7 separate regions of the Homo sapiens genome follow, and all the other regions are linked to region 1. Evidence: promoter capture Hi-C in human tissues and cell types (Jung and others, 2019). All regions are on one chromosome and are shown on one strand. The core of a region is centred on a gene start or on the middle of the fragment in contact, and the rest is flanking DNA. Distances in the headings are between cores, read along the strand shown.

Region 1 (2,531 bases), core at 32-2,531:
TCCCCCATGCCCACCCCCAGCCCCCCAGTTCAAAGATACTAGCACCACCTCCTAATTGCCATGTGCCATGCAAGAAATCAGATTTGCAGGAAAATCATTTGAAAGCGTAAGCCATTTGGGGGCTCTATTAATAACTCTCTAGGAGCAGGTGTGCTTAGGGTCCGAGGGCGCAGTGAGGTGTGGGCAGCCAGGCCCGCCCCGCCTTGCTGTAAACAGGAAAGCTTAGCGCCTCCGTGAAGCGACTGCCTTTTCTTTCTTCTTCTTATTCTCCCCGCCTCCCCCCGCGCCCCCCCACCCCACCCCCCACCCCAAGCCAGGGCAAGTAAATTTAAAGGTATTCAGTTAAAACCATTCATAACAGATTGCAGCAAATCCCAGAAGTTTCGTACATTAGTTGATTGCATAAATATTTTTTGCTTTGTTTAGTTTAGCCAAAACATACACAAAAGAGAGAAATCAAACTACTCATGACAGCCATAATACATGCTACCACATTTCTAATTTCGATTGCAAAACTACTCTTCAGAAACTCACATTAAACTGCTCCCTGGTGCATTGCTAAATTTGCGTGGGCAGTTTTATTTACTGCAGTCCCCCAACACGTTGACTCCTCTCCTAGGACTAGAAAGTTACAAAGAAACTTTCTAAGACGGCACTGGTCAGCAGAAGTCTACTTCTAAGTTGCTTAAATATTTCAAGGTAATGCAGCAATGCAATAAAATGAGGTAATAGAGATGAGAACAATCCCAGCAACTCCGCGAACAGCAGAGGCTGCTCAAGCCAAGAAGCTCCGCATTTTCCCCCAACTAATTTTATACCCTGCTCCTGGGCAGTACTAATTTAAGCCATTACCCACGCTCCACACCACCCACCATATTCTTTGTCTATAGGATTTCCAAAATTTAACGCCTTCCCTCCTATTCCTCCGACCAACTGCAATTTTCACTGCCCCTACACCCGTAGGTTCCACAGTTGGGAATTAACCTTTTTTCTGAACTCCATAAATCACAAGTGCCCAAGAACAATCTGATCGAGATGGGCTCCTTAGTAGCCCAGAGATGCAAATTTTCAGCGCCCGGAGATGCATGTTTTCTAAGTTTTTGTTTGCCTCGTTCGACTTAAAAATTCGTTTCTGACACCTAAGCCCTACCACAACCGGGCTCCCCGCGCCCGCGACCCCCGCCATTCGCCGCCCCCTACCTCGCTCAAGCAGGGCGAAGTTGCGTTCGGAGAGCCCGGGATCTGTACGGCTCGCTTCGCATCTTGCTGCTGCCCCCGACTGACTGCGTAGTGCTCTCGCAAACTTACTCGAGTCGGGGTCCCCTCCCTCCGCAGCGGAGCACTCCAATGGCCAGTCCCGCTCGCCGCGGCCAGTTCCCTGCCTGCTACGCGAAGTCACCCAGCGCCGCGCCAAGGCTGGGTGGTTTCTTCAGGAAGAGGCTGGGAGGGGTTAATGCCTTAACCCCCCACGCCCTCTGTCAGCTGGGGGCCCCCGGATCTGAACTGCTGAGACGCACTGTCCAGGAAAGATCTGGGGCAGAAGCAAAAAAAAAAAAAAAAAAAAAAAAAAGAACCCCTCCTCCCCAAACAACAAATGAAAGAAAAAAAGAGAGAGAGAGAAGGGGCGGAGCCCGGTAACCCCTGGATTCTACTGTATAAATCACTGCCCTCGCCCAGATAGACGCTGATCCCTGGCTGTGGAGAGGATTCTCCCGAGCCCCTGAAAAAAAAAAAAGGTGGAGAGACTTTGAAAACTTTTCTCTCGAAAAGTCTGAGGAGGCAGAGGACGGCCCGGAGTCTCGTAGCGCACCGCCCTGGTCCCACACCCCCCGCAGCCCTAGGAGGATCGGTGTGCTGAGCTTGTGGCCAGGAGCTCCCCGAGCCACTTTCGCGCGAGCAGCAGAAAACCTGAGCCGCGGCCCGGCGAGTGTCGGCGGCGCTCTGGGGAGGAGAGGCTGGGAAGGGGCTGCGAGAGGTACGGAGGAGACAAGCAGCCCGGGAGGGAGAATGAACCGGGAGGTTCCTGTACTCCCCCCGCCACCCCAGATCCTCGTGCTACTCGCAACTGCGGTCTGAGGGGCAGTGGCTTTCCCAGAGTGCACAGAGAAATGAACCAGCGCCGGTTTTGGTGTTGGGCGAGGGGTTTCCCTCAGCTGAGCACAAAGTCAGGCTGTGTGTCCCAGATTCTGGCCAATGGAGAGGTCGTTGAGGGGGTGGGCTGCTGCTGAGTCCTGAGAGATTCAAAACGCCTGGGCAGCTCAGGAATTTCCAAAGGGGGAGATTCTCGGCCAGGAGCTGCGGAGCAACTGCAGCTGCCCAGCAGGAGCCGGCACCCTTCTCTCACATTCTGCTTGGGAGTCGACTCAGAGGCCTCAAATCTCATTACTAGCACTTTGCCCACCCTTTTCTTTTGCTTAGATGCTACTTAAGAACGTGAGGCTGAGAGGCGGACTTGGTCAGATCTGCCTGCGTGACAAGCTCAGGACAGGACGCTTCTGCCCTTGCATTACTGTTGTAAAAGTTTCCACCCA
Region 2 (2,531 bases), core at 21-2,520, 240 kb after region 1:
TAGATTTTCTCACATAAGATTTGAAATTGGACTCACTTAAGTGAGCTAGTTCAGCCAGTCTGGATCAGAGAAGCCAGCTTCTTGGTTGTAGTGATGGTGAACCTGGGTGGGCCACTTGTGGGTTAAAGAGAAGGTTTGGAAAAAGGCCCTCATCCCTGAACTCTATAGTGAGGGAACAAATACAATCTTGCCAAATTAAGGGACTATAGGTTTGGAACAATGACAGGAGTGAGCATATGCTTTGTTTTCTTGAGATAGTGTGATGGAAGGGAGCATTCCCTCAGGCTAGATTTAAGTGTTTATTTTTATATTAGTTAGCTATGTGACTAGCTAAGTCAGTTGCTCTTTCTAAGCCTTGATGGTCTCATCTGTAAAATGAGAACAATATTAACCTTGTGAACCCCGCTCTGATTGCTCAGAACTCTTTTTTTTTTCTCCTGGGTTCTTTGCATTTCAGTATTTTTAGCAACTATATAGCTAAATTATGAAATTGTTACACATGTTCCTATACAGAATGCAGAAATACTAGAAACTTATTACTGAAACTTACTTACTACTAGCATCAGAAAGACACCAGCTACCATGAACCAAAGAGAAGTTCCTGTTACCTTTTTTGGTGACAGATTTGATCCCCAACCCATTTCGAGTTGGATATTCACTTTTTATTTTGGTTGTAAAATGATTAAATTCTCTCCTTATCTATGAAATAGTAGTTAATTGTTCCATCATTAATTAATGTTTTTTTTTCTAGTTATATAAGTTTGGAGAGACAGTTTCTATTGTTTTTTGGACAGACACTTGGAGACCAGAAAGCTTCTTTGACAAAGTGAAGAAGAACAGACAAAATGGCATGCACACATTATGTTTACTAGGTAAGGGTTTTGGAATTTCCTTGAAGTAACAATATGGAACTATCATACTGTTCTCATTTTGATTTTGTGTTAAGGTCTGTGGATAATTAGCTAGAGGTAAGAAAAGACACAGTCTAGCCATTCTATGCAGACCACACTCTTTCCCATGCTCTTAGAGAGACACGCATCTTCTGCTTCAAGTACCACATGGCTATTTCTGCATACACACCATAGTTACACTGCTCCCTCTTATGCCCTGCCCTAGTAGATCCTCTCCAGTATTCCATATCTTACTCATTTGTCCATCAAGGATTTACTGCAATCCAATAGACATGCACTGAGCAAGCCTTACCAAGGACCATCCTGCATCTTCCTAGGGAGGTTCTTTGAATACTGCAGTATTGATGCTATCAGATTCACAATGATAGATCTGAAAGAGACTCTGGAGATCATCTTATTGAGGCCTGTTTTACAGATGAAGTTGAGGCCCAGAATATTGAATTATTTCCCCAATGTCACCTAGTCAATTGTTGGCAGAACTGGTAGAATCAGATAGCCTTTTAATAATAGCTCATTTCACTGTACCTTCTTCCCCAAATCCTATTTCCTTTTTAGTGTGGAAAGAGCTGGGATCACTGTCTTTGTTTTCCAAGATAATAGTACTGAGTTTCAGAAAGCCATGGTGTTTTCTTTCTAGCAGAGGCACTGAAATTTTACCGATTCACATTTGCTAATCAGCCCCTATTCTAGTAGCATATGTTGTAGAAAGAAATACTGGTATCAAAGACTTAATCTGTGACTAAACAGAACACAGCTAACTGACATTTTTGATGACTTTGCAATGATACTTCTACTTGGAATCAGAAGACAAAATCCCAGTGCTACTACTTACTAGTTAGAGAGTACTGTAAACATTCCTTAGCCTTCATATTTATCAAATAGGAATAATTCCTCCTACTTCATGGAGTTATATAGAGCAGTACTTCTCAGACTATTTGTGGTAAAGAACCATGGTTGGGTTGTTTAAAACATATGTTTGATTTTTAAATTTTCGGTCTTTTATGTCAGTGTCAAGTTACTATAAATTTTGTACATATTCTTACTCCTGTAGTTACTTCATCATTTACTGGCAACACAAAGCTCACATACTGGCATTGGTCCTGAGATCATACTTTGAATTGTACTGTGTTACTGAAACTGTGTGTGAAGTCACTCACCAAAATGTCTATCACATAGCACAAGATCAGGGCAGAGAATAAGCCCATGATTTTGGCCTCTGTATATTAAATACAGATATTCAGAATATAAGACAAGATTTCTGTTTGCCACTTTTTTTTTTTCAAGACAGAGTCTCAATCTGTTGCCCAGGCTGGAGTGCAGTGGTGCAGTCTCGGCTCACTGCAACCTCTGCCTCCTGGATTCAGGCAATTCTCCTGCCTTGGCTCCCTGGGTAGTTAGGACTACAGGTTCATGCCACCACGCCCGGCTAATTTTTTGTATTTTTTTTAGTAGAGATGGGGTTTCACCATGTTAGCCAGGGTGGTCTCCATCTCCTGACCTCATGATCCACCCGCCTCGGCCTCCTAAAGTGCTGGGATTACAAGCGTGAGCCACTGCACTCGGCCTTTTATTTTATTTTTATTTTTTTGAGACGGAGCCTTGCTCTTGTTGCCCAGGCTG
Region 3 (2,531 bases), core at 12-2,511, 220 kb before region 1:
ATTCTGTCATTGGTTCTTCAGATATTCTATCTGCCACATTTTCTCTCTCTCCTTTCCTGCTTGAAATCCAGCTAAACTTTTCACTGTGTCCTCTATATCAATGACCTATTCCTCAATATTTTTCACAAATTGCCCTCTCTGTACTTCATCATAACAAATTTCTTCTGCCACACCATCCAGTGCACTAATTTTCTCATCAGTTCTATCTAATCTACTATTACACTCATTCACTGTGTTCTTTAATTATTGAAATTAGGTCTAGAATTCATACTGTATATGTGCTATTAGTCTTTAGAATGTACAGTTATCTATCACCATTTTTATACTTGATGCTTACTTCCTGAGTAGTAATCATAGTTGTCTCATAGTCTGTGTCTGATATTTCCAGTACAGGTAGAGTATACCTTATCTTAAATGCTTGGGATAGAAAGTGTTTTCAATTTTTTACTTGTTGTATGTTAAAATATTTGCATATACATAATGAAATATGTTGGGGATTTATTTGTGTTTCTCACATACCTTATACATCTATCCTGAAGGTAATTTTATACAATTTTATTTTATTTTTTTGAGAAAGGGTCACACTCTGTCGCCCAGGCTGGAGTGCAGTGGCATGATTATGGTTCACTGCATCATCAACCTCCTGGACTCAAGCAATCCTCCTGCCTCCCAAGTAGCTAGGACTACAGGTGCGCCCTACCACACCCAGTTAATTTTTGTATATTTTGTAGAGATGGGGTCTCACTATGTTGCCCAGGCTGGCCTCGAACTCCTGGGCTCAAGCAATCTTCCTGCCTCAGCCTCCCAAAGTGCTGGGATTACAGGTGTGAGCCACCTAGACTGAGCAGGACTTATTTTACAGCTTAGCTAGTCACCTCTCCCTTTAGGTTCTAAGGTCACATGGGCTGGATCCACATCTCATAGATCCCTTTGTCCCCCACAGCTGGCACATAATAGGTTTTCAATTCATGTTTGCTAAAGTAATGAATTGGGCATTAGCTAAGTCCTGCAGGGCAATCTCCGGGGGCAAAATGGAAATTGAAAGGACAAGTAAATGAGTGCGTGTGTTATTATGTTACAGTCCTGCTACCTTAGGCCAACCTTAAAAACTTTTGAAAAAGAGAAGAAACTGTATCTGCCACCAGGGGACTCAGCTGTACACCTGTTTTGTTTTGTTCTGCCCTGGCAGGTGTGCAGCTGGGAGCATGAAGCTGTCCGAATTCCTGACACAGAAGGCATCTGAAGGGTTAATGGGTCAAGAACTATAGATGACATAAAATATCCTGCTGGAGATCAGCTGTTGGGAGGTTCTCCTTATAGGAATCGTCTTTAGGAGGAGCAGATGAAGTTTTAGAACAAAGAAGCTTCTTGGAATTATTTTCTCTCCCTCTTTGAGGGATAAAGTGGTCTGTGCTAACTTACTTCTTAACTGAGAAGGGATTCGATTCTTGGATTTTCCTCAACCTCTCAATGAGTGGGAATAGAGATCCTGAAATGTAGTTCATGCCTAATTTAAATATATAAATGATACCAAAATCACATTCCCAGCTAGGAATATTGCAGCCAGGGTAAAAGAGTTGCAGCCATAATCCCACTTTACATGCATTTGAAACTTTCTTGTCCTCAAAACACTTCCTCGGCCAGGTGTGGTGGCTCATGCCTCTAATCCCAGCACTTTGGGAGGCTGAGGGGGGCGGATCACTTGAGGTTAAGAGTCCAAGACCAGCCTGGCCAACATGGTGAAACCCCATCTCTACTAAAAATACAAAATTAACTGGGCATGGTGGGGTAGGCCTGTAATCCCAGCCACTCGGGAGGCTGAGGCAGGAGAATAGCTTGAACCCCAGAGGAGGAAGTTGCAGTGAGCTGAGATCACGCCACTTCACTCCAGCCTGGTCAACAGAGACATTGTCTCAAAAAATAAAAATAATAAAAACACTTCCTCATCCATTATTCAGCTTTAACTCACAACCTCCTCTGACATACTGTTTTACATAAAAGCAAATGGAGACCCAGAGATAGTGAGTTGTTCTCCATCAGACATTCAGCAAATGAGAGCTGAAACTAGAATCTGCATGTTCTTTCTCTTAGTCCAGCGGCACTGTGCAAGGGAGGAAATAAATCAGAAATTATGTGATACCGAGGAAAGGCAATAGAATGCTTCTTGAAAGATGAGGACTTTGAGGTGAGCTTGAGGGAAAGAATATTCACAAATGTCAGAGGAATAAAGCTTGGGTATGCAAGAAATATAACATCACTATCACCAAGACGGAATTTCTATTTTTAGCCCCCATCCCACCAGGTGGCATATACGATTCAATTACAGTTTTCTCCTCCTTTTTCCAAGATTGGTTTAATATAGGGAAGGGGAAGCCTACAGGATGTCAAGGCTGTGGGCTGGGGCAGGAAGTGGGTAGAAAGTTGTTCTCATCTCTCCACACTAGCATCTGCTGAGATGCCTTCTTTCCTGTGACTTCAGGAAGAACACCCCTACATATTCTCTGTTTCTCTTCCCTCCCACCTTCTTCTCT
Region 4 (2,531 bases), core at 23-2,522, 190 kb before region 1:
TGGAGAAAATAAGGTCTGGAAAATCCTTTAAAGTTGTTGTTCAATCGCATAAATAAATTATTCTACTGAATAAAAGTTTTAAAACCATTAGTTCTCAGGTTTTTACAAATGATTCTGTGTGTGTGTGTGTGTGTGTGTGTGTGTGTGTGTGTGTGTGTGTGTGGAAATTTTCTAAAGACTTTTTAAATAAAAGGGCCTGTGCATCTTTCATTTTGGAAGGTGACTCTTGATGACAGGACTTGAAGATGCTTCAGTTACTCCTGATCACTCTCATTAGTGAGTTAATAATCACCCTTAAGTTAACCGAATTGACTTACTCAATGACAGTTCCTTTGAGAAAGTTATTCTCCCTGAACCTCAACAACCTAGCCTTAAGGTGGTGATAATAATACTTCCCTTACATTTGGATAATGCTCAACAGCATCTGATATATCACTTACAGATAAAGAGTAACCAGAAAAGATAATTAATGTTACGATGCTGTCTTTACAAGAATAAGACTTTATAACTGAAGGAAGGCAGTAGGGAACGTGTTTAGATCAAATACACATCCCACAGTGTCCTGACATCTCCAGTCAGTTTATTCCTTGGGAGTGGGACTTAAGAAGTTTTTCCCCACACACTGGGACATGTTGGAGGTGTGGGGAGAGGGAGAGCATCAGGATAAATAGCTAATGCATGTGGAGCTTAATACCTAGGTGATGGGTTAATAGATGCAGCAAACCACCATGGCACACGTTTACCTATGTAACAAAACTGCATGTCCTGCACGTGCATCCTGGAACTTAAAATTAAATTAAATTTTAAAAGAAGTTGTTCCCCTTTCTAGCTGATCATCAGAATCACCTGGAGAGCATTTTTAAAAGTAAACATTTAAAGGGAATCTGATAGCCAGATTTGGAAGCACTGAGCTTGAGAATATACCGTAACGACTAATATTCTGGAGGATTTTTCACATATTACTTCTTATAAAGTTCATAACAACTCATGACTTTTTAGGGGCCAAAGCACCTGTAAATATAATCATTTAAAATGAGAAATGGTGTTTTATTGTGGGGAGGGGTTGTGTGTCCTGAGTGTTTTTATTATACAGTAAAACCAAATAAAAAAAATATGGGCATCTGAAAAAAGATGTATAAGTGTCCACGGTATGTGTAGTGTGTGTATAGTACATGTTTATAACAATATTAGAGCTATGTCAGCCCAATAAGACTTTGATGGCCCTTCTTTTTTTGTTGTTATTGTTGTTTGTTTTTAGGATTTCAAAATGGTTGATCGAACTCAGGTTGAGTGTTAAAGAAAATGTTTTAGTTTTAGGCTGGGTGCAGGGGTTCACACCTATAATCTCAGCACTTTGGGAGGCCAAGGCAAAAGGATCCCTTCAGCCCAGGAGTTTGAGATGAGCAACATGGTGAGACCTGATCTCTATAAAAAATGTAAAATTATTCGGGCATGGTCTTGCACACTTGTGGTCCCAGCTACTTGGGAGGCTGAGGCAAGAGGATTACTTGAACTCAGGAGGTCACAGCTGGAGTGAACTGAGATCATGCTACTACTACACTCAAGCCTGGGCAACAGAGCAAGACTCTGTTCAAAGAAAAAAGTAGTTTTAAATGTGAATTCTGGAAGAAAATTCCGTCTGCCAAGCTAAAAGAAAACATCTATCTGTTGAATCATTTAGGAAAACTACTATGATTCTTTAATTTTATATGTAGCATTATGAACTATTCTAAAGGTGCTTATAATCAGAAACCATTAAGGAATTCTTACCTTTCCTCTATAAAATATTTTTAGTTGCTGGTTGGTTTTACTTTAATAGTTTCCATTCTCCTAAATCACCACCTAAATCAGATTTTATTGTAGATGAGAGCACTTAGAAAAGAAAAGAACAGAATTTAAAAGTCTGTGGTTTTTAGTGCATATGCTAAAACAAAATGTTTTATATGGTTACAGAATGAACTTTCATTTTTGAGTCTAGATTATGGGTTATAAGATAATTGCAATGGTTATGTAAAATGTGCATATAAATACACTGCCAGCTTTAAGAAAGATGTGCATTATACCTCATCTAGAGAGTAGACAGTGACCATTTAAGGTCCAAGAGTAAAATACTCTTCTATTATATTCTTAACTCTGGATCCTAAAAATTAGAAAACAGAAAGATCAAGAACATAAAAAGGACACATTCTCTGAGACTAAAAGTAATTCACACAAAATAAATAAGATCATTTGGCACCTAGAAAACATTCTAGAAGCAATTAAGAGACAGTCCATTGAAAAGGTACTCACTGTGAAATTGGATGCTGACATTGTAAAGATGTTCAGAAGGTATTGCAGTGAGGTAGAAAACTAAAATAAGAGTTGAATTTTGGGCCAATGCAGGCACTACAAAAAGGAAAGTTAGAGGACATTATTTTATCAGTTTCCTAAGCCATGTCCAGTGAATAACATAGTCTAGTTTTCTTTTTTAAAAATCCAAATTATGTAATCAAAAAAAAATCTAGAAAACAGAATGAGACTTTAACAGGCTA
Region 5 (2,531 bases), core at 17-2,516, 170 kb after region 1:
TTTATCTGTAACTGTATACTCAGTATGAATTGTCTCTATTGTGGTATATTAACAGCTAAGGACTAATATGGTAATAGAAACCCCCTGAACTTATACATTCAGAATTTACTTTTTTGAATATCTGATATGCCCTTTGTTACTGACTTAGAAGCCCAAATTTACTTAGTAAAACTGTAGTTTTGTCTCCCCAAATCATCTTGCCTCAAAATCATTGCATTAGAAAAGGCAGTTCTGTGAACACCAACAGATTTAAACATTTAAAAGCCTATATGAAACATATAGCCTATATGTGAACATTTAAAAGCCTATATGAAAATGGGGATGGTAGAGGGGACATGATCCTTCCCATAGATAGTTTTATTCTAGTGGAGAGCCTCAAAGTGAAAGTACTGTTTCCTCTGTAGAGAAATTCTTGTGAGAAAGTCTTAAGCATAGCTAATTAGTTCTGAGTGGAAAAAAAGCGCTCTAAGTTAGGAAACTCATTTCATTGACTATTTAAGGGAACTTTTTATAAAATCAGTTATGGAAATAAATCTGTGGTTGTAATATGTTTATTTTATTTTATTTAAATAAATAAAATTTATTTAAACATTTTGTAATATGTTTATTGATGTTTAGTTAAAGTCATCAAATGCAAGACCAATTATAAAGTTGTGAAGAAAAAGAATATCAAAAGTTTCTAAAACATTTTAATTTAAAAATATCAATTGCACAAATGTTCTAAATAAATGCTTCTACTATCCTTTTTTTTTTTTTTAAACAAAGACAGGGTCTCACTATGTTGTACAAGTTGGTATTGAACTCCTGGGGTCAAGTGAGCCTCCCACCTCACCCTCCCAAAGTGCTGGGATTACAGGCATGAGCCACTGCACCCGGCCCACTCATCTTTCTTTCCCTATTTCTGACAATTATTTGATGCATCTCAGACTTGCCTGTGAAATATTGATATATTAAGTTAGAAATAACCAATCACCTGCTTTGGATTTATATCAGGTATTCTCTTATACTAGATTATCATAGAAACGTAATAAAAGGAACCAAGGGCTTACTTAAATTTATGATAAAAATAAATTTGAGAATAATTTATTAATTAATCCATTTTCCTAGTTAAGTTGCTCTTCCTTGCTATATCCAGTTATTATCTTAGTTCTACAATCTGATTTTTCCAAAATTTGTTCATAGCATTTAACTTTCTCCCTCATATTCATGTACACACACGTGCATGCCCATCTGCACATGTGTACACACACAGAAAAGGGATCCTGGTCAAACCCACTTACCAGCTTTATCTATGACATCATATAAACCTTTCACCCCAGCCATCTGGCTGCCGTTCCAAGTCCTTAATTTTTTTTGAGCACCAAGAAGTTTTAATTTGCAACCTGCTATTGCTTTTAGTTTTAAACTGGCTTGGCATTCTCAGTACTAACTAATACATTTTGGGAATCAGCTGTCATATGAATGTCTTTTGACCTTCAAAATATTAAGAAGGTAGCTGGGTGCAGTGATGTGCGCCTGTAGTCCTAGCTACTCAGGGGGTTGAAGTGGGAGGATAACTTGAACTCAGGAGTTCAAGGCTGGCCTGGGCAACATAATGAGACCCCATCCCACCTCCCCGTCCCCACCAAAAAATTGAGAAGACTGCCAAACTTGGATTAGGTTAAGCAGCAGATATGTCGACACTTCAGAAACAAGGGCTAGAGGCCCGAAGCAGGCTAGTGTTAGGATGACTAACTCATCCTGTTTCACCTGGGATTCTCCCAGTTTTAGCACTGAAATTCCCAAGTTCCAGGAATCCCGAGTCCTGGGCAAAAGGAGACAGTTACCTCGTGAGTGAGAGGTGGAAGAAAACTGAAATGATAGCATCCTGATATTTTGGAGTAGTCCAATGAGCTACTTTGAAAAGAATGGTAAGTGTAGATGTGGTTTTGAGAAGAGTCAGGGCCAGTTAATTTAGCTGGTGAGGCAGGATGGCAATGACTGTAGACAGACATCAGGAACTGGAGCCCAGGAATCTGGACTGGGTTAATGTAGCCTTGGTAAGGAGCAACGTGATACAAAGCCTATGGTGGGAAAGACAGTCCAGGTTCCATTTACTTGATAGTACAGCTGGCAGTGAAATTCTCTCTGACCTGGTGGGAATGAGTTTGCTGATGAAGAGCTTCAGGTTGTATGTGTGAAATACAGTGGAAGATAGACACAGATAAAAGTAAACTCAAAGGAGCTGAAGGTTACATAGCTAAGAAGAGGCAGTGCTAAATTTTAAGCCCAGATCTTTCTGACCCAAAGTGTGTTGCTCAGGCAACCTTTAAATAAAAGGTTATGATATAAATTCTATTCATAGAAATCCTCTATCTAGTAGTAGTTTTGTCAATGTCATTTCCCATTTCCTAGATTATTAAATTCTTAGAGGGTAAAGACTATTCCATATTTATTTTTGTATTTTTAATTAGAAAAATACTCGGAAGACAATAAGCTTTTGATATATGTTGTTGAATTAAAGAAAATTAAATAAGACCTGCACATTCCTA
Region 6 (2,531 bases), core at 11-2,510, 150 kb after region 1:
CCACACTCATTCAGGTCTTGGAACTAGCTGCACTGTAATTTTATATTCAATATGCTAATATGATAAGTTCTCTTTGATATGATGGCATATTGTTGATTCAAAATGATAATGTGAGAAATTGACATTGTTATGATGATAGACCATAGTGTTTTTGTTAAGAATCAAGATTTAGTTAGTGGGTCATTTGAGTTTGTTAACCTGTATAGCTAAGAACTAACTCGTGATAGGTTTCTTCTTCAAGATGCAGGTCATGTGAGACTTGGACAGTTCTCTGACTAGGAATTGCAGAAAGGTAGAGCATTAGCCATCACTCTGTGAATGAGGGTTTCTATTAGGGTAAGAATATGAAAAACATTGCTTTTTATGCTATAAGATGCAGGGAGTTCTTGTTTTACTTTACATTAAACAGCTCAAATAAACATGACATACACAGACATAAAAACAAATGAACACTTAAGGACAGACACAAATAATAAGATTATAAAATAGCAAAAGATTTTATAAATAGATTAGCAAGGACTGAAAAATCATATCTGAGATAGTTTACTTGGTAACTAAGTTGTTGGGAATTTTGTAAGAAAAACAGTTAAAGGAATTTTAAAACATAATACATTTTTATTTCTTTAAAAACGTATGACAAAATTTCTTCTGCCATCGGCCATGCTCAGATTTATACATTATAAAATGATTTAATTCCCTAAAGTACAAAAAAGAATGGCTGAATCTCCAAAGAGTTGATAAAGACTGAAGATGTTTATAAGGCATGCTTATGTATACTATTTCAAGCCATCTACAGGACTTGAGACAGGAATGTTTAGTGTTTGCAAAGCCATAGTCACTGAGCCAGACTTTGTGGTGATCCAGAGATCCTTTCATTTCACAGAACTGTCCTTGACGGCTTCTCCCAATAAAGATTTACAACCTTATCTCTTGGCTGTGGCAGTATGAGAGGATCTTCTTTCAGTACATATACTAAAGCTTCATTGGAGTAGCCACGCTTAGGAAGTACCTAGGAAAAAAAATAAAGGAAGATGATGATCACTAACATTTTCTAGGAGTTACATTTTTAATATTATTTCCTATTAAAATTAGGTCTCTTATGTCATGTGGATGACTACTTCATGTAACTAATTTTTTTTAAACACAAGGTTGAAAGCGAATGTATGGTGAATTTATCTAACAGCTAACTGAAAAAACAGGGACATCCTGCGTATAACTGTATAAGGTAACATACGAAGAAAATACAAATGAGATTCAATGAACTCGATGTAGCAGAAAAACAAATGTGTGTTTAAAACAGACACTTTAAGGGAAAAGTACCTAGTATCATTTGTTTACATCATAATAATATTAGTGATTCCCTTCTGAAAATGGCTTTGTATAAGTACATTAATTCTCTTAAGTGTGAAGCAATCCCACTGGAATGAAAAGAAGTTCTGACTGAAGAATTGAAGAGAAATTCAATAACTGGACTAAATATCAAAGGTACTAAGAAGCTGGAGATCTGATCTACTGAATCCTACCACTAATTTTCTGCTCTGTCTTCTATCCCCATTCTCCTTCCAAACCTGTGAATAGACCTAGACATACTAACGCTTCCTACATTTTTTTTTTTTTTGAGTCTCACTCTGTTGCCCAGGCTGGAGTGCAGTGGTGCTATCTCAGCTCACTGCAACCTCTGCCTCCCAGGCTCAAGTGATTTTCCTGCCTCAGCCTCCCAATTTGCTGGGATTACAGGCACGTGCCACCATGCCTGGCTAATTTTTGTATTTTTAGTGGACACAGGGTTTCCCCAGGTTGGCCAGGCTGGTCTCAAACTCTTGATCTCAGGTGATCTGCCCACTTCGGCCTCCCAAAGGGCCGGGATTACAGGCATGAGCCACCATGCCTGGCCATACTAACACTTCTTACATTTTAAAAGAGAGAGAGGACTCCAGAAAATTAGCCTCATTCATTAATTCCAAAAATTGTTGTTTTGTAGCATGTAGTTTGCTGCTTGGTTTTGGTGCCTTTCTTTATGCTGCTAAAGTGTCATGTACTCTGTGGCATTCAGCATTCAGTGTTTGTCAAGTGACATATAAGATGAATTCATAAATAAAAACCCCTGATCAAAGATTAAAGAAATAAAATAAGAATAGCAAAAAAGACTTCTTTCTTTGTAAACATTCACCCATATTATTAATAATAATATAATTGTTAATCCATAATAAGCACCCAGGGAAACTACAATTGGTATAAAGAATAAGATAATTATATAAACAACTATAAAATATGACAGAATATAGGAAGTGAGAAAGTGTTACAAGAATTAATGAGAAATGGGATGGAGGGCTCACTGACTAAAAAGTACTACTCTTCTAGCTGGCTAGGTCAACTCTATCACCATCCTTTTCCTCAAATTCATCAGGGCTTCCAAGCACTCTGTTTCTCCAATTTCTCCCTCTTTTTATTTATCCTCGCCCCTTACTTTAGTTCCAGTACATCTTCAAGCCTATGGGTCATCAATCTCTCTTTTGCTAATATCTCAATTT
Region 7 (2,531 bases), core at 1-2,500, 130 kb before region 1:
ATTGAAAGAGATGTAATAGGGAAAGGAACAGACCAGTCTTGAAAGAAAGGAAGGGAACCAAAGTCAGAGGAAGGAGAGATAGAGGCAGAGATAGAATCAGGGAGGCTATGATTGCAGCTCACCCATTAGCTTCACCTTTCAGGCTCACCCAAAAACAAAATTTGCCCATCAGAGCTCAGAGTAAGGTGTCCTATCAAATGCTCCCAGATATGACTCATACTGAGAAACTGCTCTGGAAATAAACTAAGCCTATCAGTTGCCAAATCTGTGAACCTAGATTTGCTTTCCCATATGACTCAGAGAGGTGACAGAGGCCACATGAATGAGCTTCTTACTATCCTCTCAAACACAGATGTACTGGCCAAGAGAACAAGGGTTTGAACACTTCCAATGCTGAAAAGCATTGTGTGCAAAGAGAGGAACCCTGTTCTCATGAGAGAAAACAGAGAGTGGGTCCCTAAAGATTTAGACTTCTGCCACTAGAAGACAGTGTGGCAGTCAGACAGGGAGAATGGATTATCAGCATAGCTTTCAGTAGGAAAACAGGGCATGCCATTCAATCGAATGATTTTCCTCAGATCTGATGGCCTAGCATGTCCAAAACTTGGATTGCACCCAGGGGTGAGCCAGAATCCTGAATACCATATTTAAAATGATTTAACGTTGGAAAAAAAAAGGACGTGGGGAGAGTTACGTAGCATCAGAGGGCACAGACTACCAGTCTGCATCTGCCCAGATCCAAATGCATGGACAATTCTGATTTCTGCACGTTAGACTTTTGTTGTGATCCTTTGGGAAAAACTCACAAGTGCTATTCATAGCCTTTGATCATATATATATATATATATATCTCGTGGCAAAATAGAAGTTACAATTAAGTGGTGCAATTCAAGAGATAAAGGTCAGACAATGCACTAAAATACTGCTTAATACACAAAGCACTGTGCAAAAGTGCTGATACAGGAGAAATGACTACTGATTAAATCCTGGGCTTCAAATCCCTGCTAATGCCATAAAATTTAATGGATTACAAAGGGAACAGACAAAACACAAGGAAAACTATGGGAAGCACAACTTCAGTGATTTTCTTAATTAACGCAAGTTCAGAAAATATACACTGTTTTTTCTTATTAAGCTAATCCTTTAAAGATCAGAGCAAAATGGCATCTTTATTTATACTTACCTAATGCAGCTTTCTATCCCCTCTTCTTGAGGAGAATTTACTATTCACATAAGGAATAGCCCTGGAGACTTCAGGGCCTTTCCTTTATGGCCAGCATCATTTGGGCTTTGAAAAGTTCAAGCCAAATGTCCCCACAGGCCTCCATCACACTCTCTGCCCTGTGCTATCAATGTGTCCAACAGCAGCAGTGGAGGGCCAGCTGGGGTCACCTCCAGCATATTGTCATTCTCTGTGATTACACAAGGCCTTAAGAGGGACAATCATGGGCAGGTCTTGTTCTCTTTATGCTTTGCTTAGAGAGGAGGATGATTGCAAATGGTCTTCACAACTCCTCTCAGAACACAGCAGAAGGACCATGCCACCCGGGTGATCCAACTGAAACAAGCCTCAACTGTGACTTCACCTTACAAACAAAAGTTCTACTGAAAGGATTACAGAGAGGTAAATCAATGCATAGCCTAGAGAACCAGGCTCAGAAACAAACATGTATCAGGGGAGACAAGGTACAGCCAAGACTGGGCCACAGGAATGGTCTGCTTAGAACTTTGTTCTAGACACCACCACCTCTGGCAGTGCTACAGCTCACCACCATGCTCACACTCCTCCCTTCTCTCCCTCAGAACTTAAGGTCCCGGGCCACAGCATCTATCTGGCAGAGACAGGTCACATGCCTGCCCCCGACCTGCCTGATAGCTGTAGGAGGGGATATCTATTCCTATAGGAAAGAATCCCTATAGCAAAGAATATCCAATTCCATGAACAGGAAGCATATGCAGATGCCAAGCAGCCACAAACTCAAAACTCTTCAATACATTTTCATTGCCTGCAGCATAAAGTCCAAGCCTTTTAACTTGTCATAATTGTAGGGTGAGGATGCCTCCCAGTTTTCCTGAGAGGGTCCTAGTTTTCCATTTTTGCCCTAGGATAATTATTAGTGAGACTGCTTTCACTCTCAAAAGTGTCTTGGCTGGGTGCGGTGGCTCACGCCTGTAATCCCAGCACTTTGGGAGGCCAAGGCCAAGGCGGGAGGATCACTTGAGGCCAGGAGTTCAGGACCAGCCTGGCCAACATGGCAAAACCGCATCTCTATATTAAAAATACAAAAAAAAAAAAAAATAGCCAGGCGTGGTGGCACAGGCCTATAGTCCCAGCTACTCAGGAGGCTGAGGCAGGAGAATTGCTTGAACCCGGGAGGCGGAGGTTGCAGTGAGCCAAGGTCACGCCACTGCACTGTAGCCTGAGTGACAGAGTAAGACTCTGTCTCAAAATAAAAAGCATCTGGGTTTAGAAAAATGGTACAGTCACCCTACCTTTAACACTCTTCATGATAAGGCACCTGCCTACCTTT

The links. Contacts are between HindIII fragments. The study calls those that stand out against the background at their distance.
Region 2: a fragment that was not itself captured here is called in contact with the fragment with the promoter of S1PR1 in region 1 in 1 of the 25 tissues and cell types used here (H1 embryonic stem cells).
Region 3: a contact is called between a fragment that was not itself captured here and the fragment with the promoter of S1PR1 in region 1, in 1 of the 25 tissues and cell types used here (lymphoblastoid cells).
Region 4: a contact is called between a fragment that was not itself captured here and the fragment with the promoter of S1PR1 in region 1, in 1 of the 25 tissues and cell types used here (lymphoblastoid cells).
Region 5: a contact is called between a fragment that was not itself captured here and the fragment with the promoter of S1PR1 in region 1, in 1 of the 25 tissues and cell types used here (lymphoblastoid cells).
Region 6: a contact is called between a fragment that was not itself captured here and the fragment with the promoter of S1PR1 in region 1, in 1 of the 25 tissues and cell types used here (liver).
Region 7: a fragment that was not itself captured here is called in contact with the fragment with the promoter of S1PR1 in region 1 in 1 of the 25 tissues and cell types used here (lymphoblastoid cells).

The regions. Positions count from the first base shown.
Region 1 is chr1:101,235,769-101,238,299 of GRCh38, reverse strand. S1PR1 (sphingosine-1-phosphate receptor 1) reads right to left here and starts at 1,281. Exons shown (of 2, transcript NM_001400.5): 1 at 1,201-1,281. S1PR1-DT (S1PR1 divergent transcript) reads left to right here and starts at 1,772. Exons shown (of 2, transcript NR_104626.1): 1 at 1,772-1,975; 2 at 2,419-2,531. RefSeq lists an enhancer at 2,102-2,191. The HindIII fragment of the contact is 36,645 bases long and covers 1-2,531 here.
Region 2 is chr1:100,999,808-101,002,338 of GRCh38, reverse strand. DPH5 (diphthamide biosynthesis 5) reads left to right here. Exons shown (of 8, transcript NM_015958.3): 5 at 752-872. Among named protein-coding and RNA genes, the nearest start is that of DPH5, 25 kb to the left of the region's middle. The HindIII fragment of the contact is 3,285 bases long and covers 1-2,531 here.
Region 3 is chr1:101,453,985-101,456,515 of GRCh38, reverse strand. No RefSeq gene overlaps it. Among named protein-coding and RNA genes, the nearest start is that of LINC01307, 130 kb to the right of the region's middle. RefSeq lists an enhancer at 2,483-2,531. The HindIII fragment of the contact is 4,104 bases long and covers 1-2,531 here.
Region 4 is chr1:101,429,017-101,431,547 of GRCh38, reverse strand. No RefSeq gene overlaps it. Among named protein-coding and RNA genes, the nearest start is that of LINC01307, 110 kb to the right of the region's middle. The HindIII fragment of the contact is 7,567 bases long and covers 1-2,531 here.
Region 5 is chr1:101,063,641-101,066,171 of GRCh38, reverse strand. All of the region lies in intron 1 of DPH5-DT (DPH5 divergent transcript), which reads right to left. Among named protein-coding and RNA genes, the nearest start is that of DPH5-DT, 39 kb to the right of the region's middle. The HindIII fragment of the contact is 9,338 bases long and covers 1-2,531 here.
Region 6 is chr1:101,085,330-101,087,860 of GRCh38, reverse strand. It overlaps DPH5-DT (DPH5 divergent transcript), which reads right to left. Exons shown (of 5, transcript NR_109849.1): 5 at 482-1,009. Among named protein-coding and RNA genes, the nearest start is that of DPH5-DT, 61 kb to the right of the region's middle. The HindIII fragment of the contact is 4,415 bases long and covers 1-2,531 here.
Region 7 is chr1:101,369,115-101,371,645 of GRCh38, reverse strand. All of the region lies in intron 4 of LINC01307 (long intergenic non-protein coding RNA 1307), which reads right to left. Among named protein-coding and RNA genes, the nearest start is that of LINC01307, 47 kb to the right of the region's middle. RefSeq lists an enhancer at 1-5 and a silencer at 179-473. The HindIII fragment of the contact is 5,368 bases long and covers 1-2,531 here.